Regions from separate parts of the Homo sapiens genome. Here region 1 is linked to region 2. The links are contacts of gene promoters, found by promoter capture Hi-C in human tissues and cell types (Jung and others, 2019). All regions are on one chromosome and are shown on one strand. The core of a region is centred on a gene start or on the middle of the fragment in contact, and the rest is flanking DNA. Distances in the headings are between cores, read along the strand shown. Region 1 has its middle 340 kb from the start of PRDM2. Region 2 holds the start of PRDM2 (PR/SET domain 2).

Region 1 (4,643 bases), core at 1,422-3,921, 340 kb before region 2:
AATGTAAATGTGCTTAATTCCATTCTGTACACTTAAAAATGGTTAAAATGGTAAATTTTATGTTTTGTATATTTTACCACAATAAGAAAAAAATGTTTAAGTTAATAATGATCATTATGACAAGAGATAATTAAGGCCAGGTACGTAAGCAGAAACACTGATTTCATTCACTGCTAGTATTCAGTAACATGCAAAAGTTTTGGAAAGATGATACATCAAATGATCTTTTACTTTACTATACAAAGGAGTAGCTTGAGAAACCCTTTAAATAGACAGCTTGACTTCCAGTTCCAAGATGGCAAAATGAAGAAATATCTGTCCCCTTCTACTCTAAAAAATCAATTCACAACAAATAGGAGGGAAAAAAAAGAAACCCAAGTACAATTTGGGTGAAACTAGATGCCATCTGTATCACTAACCCACAATATATGAAGTGATAAAATAGATTGAGTGAGCAGAAGAAAGTTAAATTTAAGTTCTGGCAGAGGGAGACAATATGGAAAAGCAAGCCAATTTGCCCTGGGAACCCTAGACCTGCTCAGGAACTTGAAGTACCAGGTACAGAGGTAGCTGAGACTAAGATGAGGGCTGAAAGCAGGGAGAATGTTCTACAGGTCTGGATGAGAAGCTGTTGGACTCATAGTATTCTTGCCCTCCTGTAACCCAGCATAGGAAGTGACTTCCCTCTCCTCTACACTTATAGTAGATGGGGGTATATTTTCCAAAGAAATAAACTAGAAGGTTCTGGAATCAAGAGCAGCAGGTTCTGTAAAAGGAGTAGAAATTTATGCTGAGGAAATTTCCCAAAAGGGAAAAAAAACTGAAGAGAAAAAAAAAGAAAATTAGGTCAATCCAGGAGGTCCTACAGTTGACTAAGAGATTTCCAGAGAGAGAGAACAGAGAAAACAATAAGTAGTAGACAAAGAAAAAACATTTTAAAATTTCCCAGTACCAGACATAAGCCCAACCCACACTAAGACCCATCATAATGAAATTATTCTAGAATCACAGATAGAGAAGATCCTAAAAGCATTCAGAGAGGAATGTCACAAAGGATCAGGTAACAGTACGGAACTGGACTTTTCAACAACCAGAAGCCAGAAAAAAATTAAACAATACCTTCAGAATTGTAAGAGAAAGATTCTATACCCAGCCAAACTATCCATTGGGGTGTGGGTGAAATAAGACATTTTCAGACATGCAAAGTCATACAAGAAGTTAATTCTCTAGTACTCTGTAGGAAACTACAAGGGAAGGAGGTCCACTAACATGGGGAAGTAACTACTGAAAAAGAAGACTTTGGATGAAAGAAATAGGGAATCTAGCACAGGAGAAAGGTAAAGGGAATTCCAGGATAATGGAAGAGAGACCCCAGGATAAAATCTGTTCAGCAGTCTTAGAGAAGAACCAAGCCAAAAGGGAGCATAAGGGAGGGCTCCAGGAGAGAGAAATCAAGGAGAAAAAATAAATAAAACTGGTAGGTTATCTGACAGGTTTGGCTGAGTTGAAAAATTGCATTGAGGAGCATTCTATACAGCTATTGGAGAATACAAGAAAACTAAGATAAAGACTTGAAATAAATCCAGGAAATGGGAAAATGAAGATTTTATAAGTAAGTTGAGAAGAAAGGAAATAAAATCATAAAGGTATAATCATAGTACATTCCCTGGCTTAGAAGTAAACAATATCTGCATAGTCATAATAATGGAAACAATAGTAATTACAACAAAACGTGGAATTATACTACTGGGGTATAAGGAGAAAAGAAAGAGGGGTGTAAGAAAGTCAGAAGTCCTCACCTAGGTATAATATGAAAGCAACAGACATTGTTCAAAATTGATCATTCATGAAATAATACACTGATGTGATTTGAAAATATTGGAGAAAATGCCAGAAGAAACAGCTAAAAGAATTCAGCGGTGGTTGCTTCTGAGGAGCAAAGTGAAGCTGCCAAGCGAATGGGGCACTGCTGTTTTCCGTCAGAAGCCTTTCACCATTATTTGATGTTGAAACTATACATGTGCATTACTTGGTTAAAATAAAAATTATTTTAAAGGTAAAAAATGGCTTCTCTCTGTACTTTAAAAATGTAATTTAATGTTTATATCTATTATATTAACTCCTAATAGCTCAGGAAAATATTGGTTTTCCAAAGTGAACAAGAATAGCAAAGCTTTCTTTTCTATTTTATTTTATTTTATTTTAATTTAATTTAATTTTATTTTATTTTAATTTTTTTGAGATGAAGTCTCGCTCTGTCTCCCAGGCTAGAGTGCAGTGGTGCGATCTCGGCTCACCGCAACCTCCGCCTCCCGAGTTCAAGTGATTCTCCTGCCTCAGCCCCAGCCTGAGTAGCTGGGATTACAGGCGGGCGCCACCATGCCTGGCTAATTTTTGTATTTCTAGTAGAGATGGGGTTTCACCATGTTGGTCAGGCTGGTCTCAAACTCCTGACCTCAGGTGATCTGCCTGCCTTGGCCTCCCAAAGTGCTGGAATTACAGGCATGAGCCACCGTGCCCAGCCTAGCAAGGCTTTCTTAAAGACCCTTAGGAAAGTTGCTCAGGCTTTTAAGCCTATTCGAGTCTAATGGAAGGAATCCCCTCCATCCCCCGCTGACCTCCCACAGCACTCCTGGCCACATACACGGGAGATCTGAAGGCTCCCATACTGACTCCTTCCACCTAATTCAGCCTGGCCTTTTCTCCCCGAGAAGCTTCAATTTCCTGTTACAGAGTCAGCTGTTTTCAAACTGAAAAGGTCAGATGTAAATGCTATTTTAGGGTGCTCACATTTGGTGGAAATGAGTCACCCAGGTTGGGTTTATTGCCTGAGCCAGGTAAACATGAAATCCCTCCAGTTAAAAATATCACAAGCAGAAAAAAAACCTCTCTCTCTCTGTCTCTCTCTCTCTCACACACACACGTGCACACACACACACGTGCACACACACACACGTGCACACACACATCCTTTTCCACCAAGTTCAGCCAGATGAATTTATTACCCAAGTAAGATTTATCTAACGTTTTCATAAAAATCCCCAGCCTAAGGGTGATATGCATGTCAGTATCGTTGCTAGCAATTTGATGTTAAAAAAGATTTGCTGTACAAGCTTGTCTATTGGAATTGATTGGAAACAGGCACACATGGCAATGTAGAAAAATCTAGATAATCCACAGTTATCTGTGCTCCTTTCCCCTGTGGAAGAGGGCTGGAGAGGTCGCCCAGCATACTGAGTGCATGAATGTCAGGGTTTTCTCTAAATCTCCAAGGATGCAACACTACAAGGCTGTTTATATTGATCAACAGCATGCATGGAAGTTAACATAAATCAATTAGTAAAATGCTCAGGCAGCAGCGATTGCTAAACTATACTGTGTAAATAAAAGTTTTAAATATAAAACATGATGATCAAATCTATTAACCATGCTCAGCCCTGCCAAGCTCTACCGTGACCTTCAGCAGCAGAATTTTCAGCTGTCACTCAAAGCCCACTGCCGACTCATGTGGACAATCTTGCATTGCTAGATGTTAGGGTCGTCTCAGAACTTAACCCCAAGTCCCATCTTTAATAACAATGACAAAGTGCATCGATACAGCACTTGACAATTTGCCAGCCTCTTTCAAACACTTTATTGGTTGACTTGGTCCTTGCTGTATGCCTTGATAAGAGGGCAGCTCATAGGGAGACCGTGGAGGCAGACGTAGAGAGTGGAAGTCTTGGCTCTGCAATTTACCATCTTGTCTGGAAGCAGGCAACTTAATTTCAGGGTTAGATACGTTGTTCTCAAATAGCTATTACTTTAATTCCTACTTTTTTTTTTTTTTTTTTTGAGACAGAGTCTCACTCTGACGCCAGGCTGGAGTGCAGTGGCACGATCTTGGCTCACTGCAACCTCCTACTCCCTGGTTCAAGTGATTCTCTTGCCTTAGCCTCCCGAGTAGCTGGGATTACAGGCACACACCACCATGCCCAGCTAATTTTTTGTGTGTGTATTTTTAGTAGAAATGGCATTTCACCTTGTTGGCCAGGATGGTCTCAATCTCCTGACCTCATGATCCACCTGCCTCAGCCTCCCAAAGTGCTGGGATTACAGGCATGAGCCACTGCGCCTGGCCTTTAATCCCTACTTTTACAGAGGTGAAACTGAAGCTTAGAGAGTGAGTTATTTGTAAAGGGAATTGGAAAAACGGATTCACACCCAAATCTATTTATCTCATTTTCAACTCCATGCTTCGCTTTGCACTGCTTCCATGGATTCCTGAACCCCCTGCAGCTTCATCACAGGTATGACCTAAGGCAAGGTTTCCTGTGTCCTTTGAAAGGCAGAGACCCTGCACCCCTCCCGAGGACTCTCTTCAGTGGAGCCCAGGGAGGAAGGCACTGGTGTCTATGGTTGTCGCTCAGCTCCCAGCATCCCACTTTCATGACCCAATTGCAGTCCTACAGTGAAAGGTATATTGAAAAGGAGGGCAACCTGGAGCCCTGCCCTCAGACCTCATTTCCTTTTGCTCTCCCCCAGGCTTATTCTTCTGAGGTCACCTGTCCCAGGTGCTGTCCTTTAAATGTGCAGGATGTTCCTGCATAAGGCCTTTGACCTGGGGGCTCCCTTTGTCTGCAACTTTCTCCCTCCAGAGAACC
Region 2 (4,675 bases), core at 211-2,710:
TCAAGGCTAAACTAAGATTCTACATGTAAAAATTTGGCCAATAAGTGTTAGTCCGGAAGCCTCAAGAGTGATGGGGCAGTTTGGACCATCTCAAAAACACAGAACCCTACTAAAAAAGAACGTATGACAGTGTGTCTCAGTTCCTCCTCCTTAATATATGTAAATTTCCTATCATGTTTTTTTTTAAAAGGCCTACATTTTTCTAATACTTGGACACAACTGATCAAACCGAGGCGAAGTGTGTACCATTGTAAAAGAAATCATTGAAGAGTTCCATTTGTTGTTAAAAGTTTCGGTCACTTTTAATAAACCTGGAGTAAACAAAAACTTAAACATTTTAGTCGAGTTCTGGGGTAAAAATGATTCTTCTAGTGTCTGGTTAAAGGGATCTAAGGACCTACTGGGATTCAGCAAAAGACGTTCCACGTCTCAAATACACCCAAAATCTCAATACAACACTAAAAGAAAAGTGAGGGGCCAGCACGAAATTTCTGTTAGGGGAAATTTCAGCTGCGTAGTTAAGGAAATCAGGACTTCCCGGTTAACTATGGGGTCTTTGCCGCAGCTCACAGCCCGACACAAAGCTACAAGCCCGGAGGGTCGGTGGCTCACGCGTGGATCGAAAGAACCACGAAGGTTTGGGGAATGACACTGACCTGTTAGGTTTACTTCATGTCTCACTTACCACCATCAAAAGAGGTTCATTGATAGCTTTATTAGCAAAATTAGTAACAGAGTTGCACGTCTGTAACACACACACACGCGCGCGTGCGCACACACACACATACACCCGTGGGTCTATGGGAACATTGAGGGAGACAATCTCCAGGTTAAAACCACACAAAAACTATTTGGGAAACACAAAGACGCAAGACACAAAACAAATTTGGAGTGCAAATGTGCAAGACACACTCAGTGGGAACACAAAAGAGAAAAGCACAGCGGCTTGACAATTGGGACGGCGCCCGGCCCCACGTGGGGCCCCAGGTGGCCCCACCGCCGCCCGCACCCGGCCAGTCTCTGCAGCCCGCACGCGTCCCCCGCGGGGCGCGCGGCTCTTCACGGCGACAAACCGAATCCCGAACTTCGCCGCAGGGACCCCACGGCCGACAAGGAGGAGCCCGGCGCCGCCACCCACCCGCGGGGCCACCGACCCGGAGGCCCGCGCCTCGTCCCGGGGCCCCCGGCACGCCCGGGACCTCTGAGGGGGCGCGTCCGCCGACCCGGCCATCCCTGCGGCGCCGGGTCCCCAGCGTGTCGCCGCCGCCGTCGCCGCCGCGCTCCTCGGGGGGAGGGACCAGCGTCCCGGCGCGAGCCCAGAGGCCGCCCACCCGCGCCACTCCTTACCCGCGCCCGCCGCGCCAGCGCCTCAGAGCACCGAGGGCCGCCGCCGCCGCCGCTGTTTCGCCGGCCCCGGCGCCCGCGGCCGCGCCGCCGCCATCTTGACTCCAGTCGGAAGTGACGTCGGGCGGCGAGGCAGTGGCCTGCGGGGCTGGGGGGCTCCGGGACCCCCGGTCTCCCCACGATCCCAGAGCCCGGCCCTTGACCCTGCGCCGTCGCCCAATGGCCACCACCCAGCCGCCCCTCGTAGGTCACCGCGGATCCCATGGCGGCGCCTCGGGAAGGAACCCCGGCGGCTGGCGTCGCGGCAAGTCCGACCGCACCCTAGGGCTAGGATCCTGCGTGGTTCAAAGATTCTCAAAGAATCAAAAAGACTGAAGGAGGTGTTGGGGGGGCATGTCTATCGTTGGAGGTCATTAAATATCTGACAAGTACATAAACGTAGACCTTATACTTCTACGTTTGGATCTATACCAAAAAGATCCAACTCCAGGCAGACAGACGCAGCTGCTGGGTTTATTTGCTGCCCTAGTACCCAGGAGCAGTGACCAACGCTGCCCTGTGCCCGCGATGTTCCAGTGCAGCGCCTCTGAGAGCGCGGTAGTAGTCCTGCCCTTAAGGAGCTTGCTGTTCCCAAGCGGGCAAACAAATGGACTGCAGAGACGACGACTCATAGATGTTCTGATGAAGATGAACTGGGTGGAACTGGAGATGGCTCTTCGACATCCAAGGGTGGAGGCCTAGCACGTGGTTGAAAATGAGTTGAGTCGGGGAGAAGCACAGGCTGGAGATGAGCTGGAAAGTTGGGAGTTGTCGTTATAGATGGTGCCTGGAGCCTTCAGCACTTCAAGATAAAGTAATCCTCTGAGAATGAAGTCAGGAAGAATCCGAATGTGATGGCTACGTTGGCCATCTGCAGAAAGCACCCAGTGGAAAAACAGGATACTAAGGGCAGGTGTGCTTCCAAAAATTATGAACGATCATTTATGTAACAGGTTTAATCTTAAGAAAACGTGTTGGCCGGGCGCAGTGGCTCACGCCTGTAATCCCAGCACTTTGGGAGGCCAAGGCAGGTGGATCACGAGGTCAGGAGATCGAGACCATCCTGGCTAACACGGTGAAACCCCGTCTCTACTAAAACTACAAAAATTTAGCCGGCCGACGTGGCGGGTGCCTGTAGTCCCAGCTACTCCGGAGGCTGAGGCAGGAGAATGGCGTGAACCCAGGAGACGGAGCTTGCAGTGAGCCAAGATCGCCCCACTGCTCGCCAGCCTGGGCGACAGAGACAGACTCCATCTCAAAAAAGAAAGAAAACGTGTTGTATCAACATATATCATGTTATCTTATTGTAAAAGAATGAGGCTAGGCCGGGCGCGGTGGCTCAGCCTGTAATCCCAGCACATTGGGAGGCCGAGGCGGGTGGATCACGAGGTCAGGAGATCGAGACCATCCTGGCTAACACAGTGAAACCCCGTCTCTACTAAAAATACAAAAAATTAGCCAGGCGTGGTGGCGGGCGCCTGTAGTCCCAGCTACTCCGGAGGCTGAGGCAGGAGAATGGCGTGAACCCGGGAGGCGGAGCTGGCAGTGAGCCAAGATGCCCCACTGCTCTCCAGCCTGGGTGACAGAGCGAGACTCAGTATCAAAAAAAAAAAAAAAAAAAAGAATGAGGCTATAGCTGATGATCGAGTCGGTTATAGTAAACAAATGAAGATCACCTCATTAGAGTAAATTTTATTAAGGCCTTGAGAAGTGACAGGGCTTAAGAAAATAAGGAAATAAATCAAACCTCAAGGGTTTGCTTATTTCTTCCGCTATTCAAGGAAAAGAGACCCTAGATCTGGGAGATACCACGTGCCTGTCATCAAAGTAGTATTCTCTGTTGTGGAGCAAAGTCATCAGACTTCTGCACCCCTTACCTAGATTAATACCTTCCAACTGGATCCATGCATCGAAATTATCTGGGGTATCTATGAAGAAAATAGGGAGACCCCACTGTTCCATCCACCATCAAAACACTGACATAGAAATCACCATTTTAAGAGAAAAGCTATGGGCCACCTGGCATTCAATAGAATGCAAAAGGAAAATAAAGGATGTTAAATCAGAAGTGGCACGGTGAACCAGAATGGATACTAGATGGTTGGTTAACAGAGTAGCCAGTAGTTGTCTTTCCGGTTATTAATTCATTAATCCAAAGTGACTGGCTATATTAGTTTCCTGTGGCTGCTGTAACAAATTATCCCAACCCTGACAACAGAAGTTTATTCTGTCACAACTCTAGAGGCTAGAAGTCCAAAATCAGTATCACTAGGCCAAAATTAAGGTGGCAGCAGGGCCGGGCTCCCTCTGGAGTCTCTAGCAGAGAATTGCTCCTTCCCTTTTCCAGCTTCTGGTGGCTGCCAGCATGCCTTGGCTTGTGACTGCATCACTCTATCTTCAAGGCCAGTATCTTCAAATCTCTATCTCCATCTTCATGTCATCTTCTCCTGTGTATGTGGTCAAATTCCCTCTGCCTCCCTCTCATAATGATACATGTGATTTAGGACCCACCCAGATAATCTGGCCATCTCAAGATCCTTCACTTAATCACGTCTGCAAGACTACATATGAAGTAGCATTTGCAGATTCTGGACGTTAGGGATGTGGATTTAGGTATGGGGCCATTATTTAGCCTACCACACTGGGTGTCTCCTCAGCGTTTCTGAGGTTCCCCCCACCCTTAATCAGCCATTGTGTGGTTTTTATCTGTGTATTTCTTGAACATATGTCTATTTTTCAACCTGTGCTATTTCTCAGGGTAAATAATTAAATATAATTTGTTTAATCCGAAAAAGATCAGAGCCAACAAGAATACAATAATTTAATGAGCACTTATTATCCATGTGATATGTTAAATATCATTCTTTTGCCTCTTTGAAAAGGTAAAATGTATTGTTTAGCCTACCACGCTGGGTGTCTCCTCTGAGGTACCCCCACCCTTAATCAGCCATTGTGTGGTTTTCATCTGTGTATTTCTTGAACATATGTCTATTTTTCAACCTGTGCTATTTCTCAGGGTAAATAATTATATATAATTCATGTAATCCAAAAAAGATGTGAGCCATCAAGAATACAATTTAATGAGCACTTATTATCCATGTGATATGTTAAATATCACTCTTTTGCCCCTTTGAAAAGGTGAAATGTATTGCAGGCTGTTTCTGTATGGGGATGGAAGTATAAAAATATACTCTTTGTCCAAGTCGACAACATGAATCAAACTCCACTCTACCCCAGTACACCTGGTACCAGTTCTGGCCGGTTTTGTACCTTGCTGCGGCAGTACCGTGAT

Evidence for each region. The method cuts DNA at HindIII sites, captures the fragments that hold promoters and counts their contacts. A contact is called where the count stands out against the background at its distance.
Region 1: a contact is called between a fragment that was not itself captured here and the fragment with the promoter of PRDM2 in region 2, in 1 of the 25 tissues and cell types used here (pancreas).

The regions. Positions count from the first base shown.
Region 1 is chr1:14,038,361-14,043,003 of GRCh38, reverse strand. It overlaps a transcript of KAZN not described here. Among named protein-coding and RNA genes, the nearest start is that of PRDM2, 340 kb to the right of the region's middle. The HindIII fragment of the contact is 4,746 bases long and covers 299-4,643 here.
Region 2 is chr1:13,696,973-13,701,647 of GRCh38, reverse strand. PRDM2 (PR/SET domain 2) reads right to left here and starts at 1,460. Exons shown (of 10, transcript NM_001393986.1): 1 at 1,348-1,460. RefSeq lists a silencer at 938-1,707. The HindIII fragment of the contact is 18,174 bases long and covers 1-4,675 here.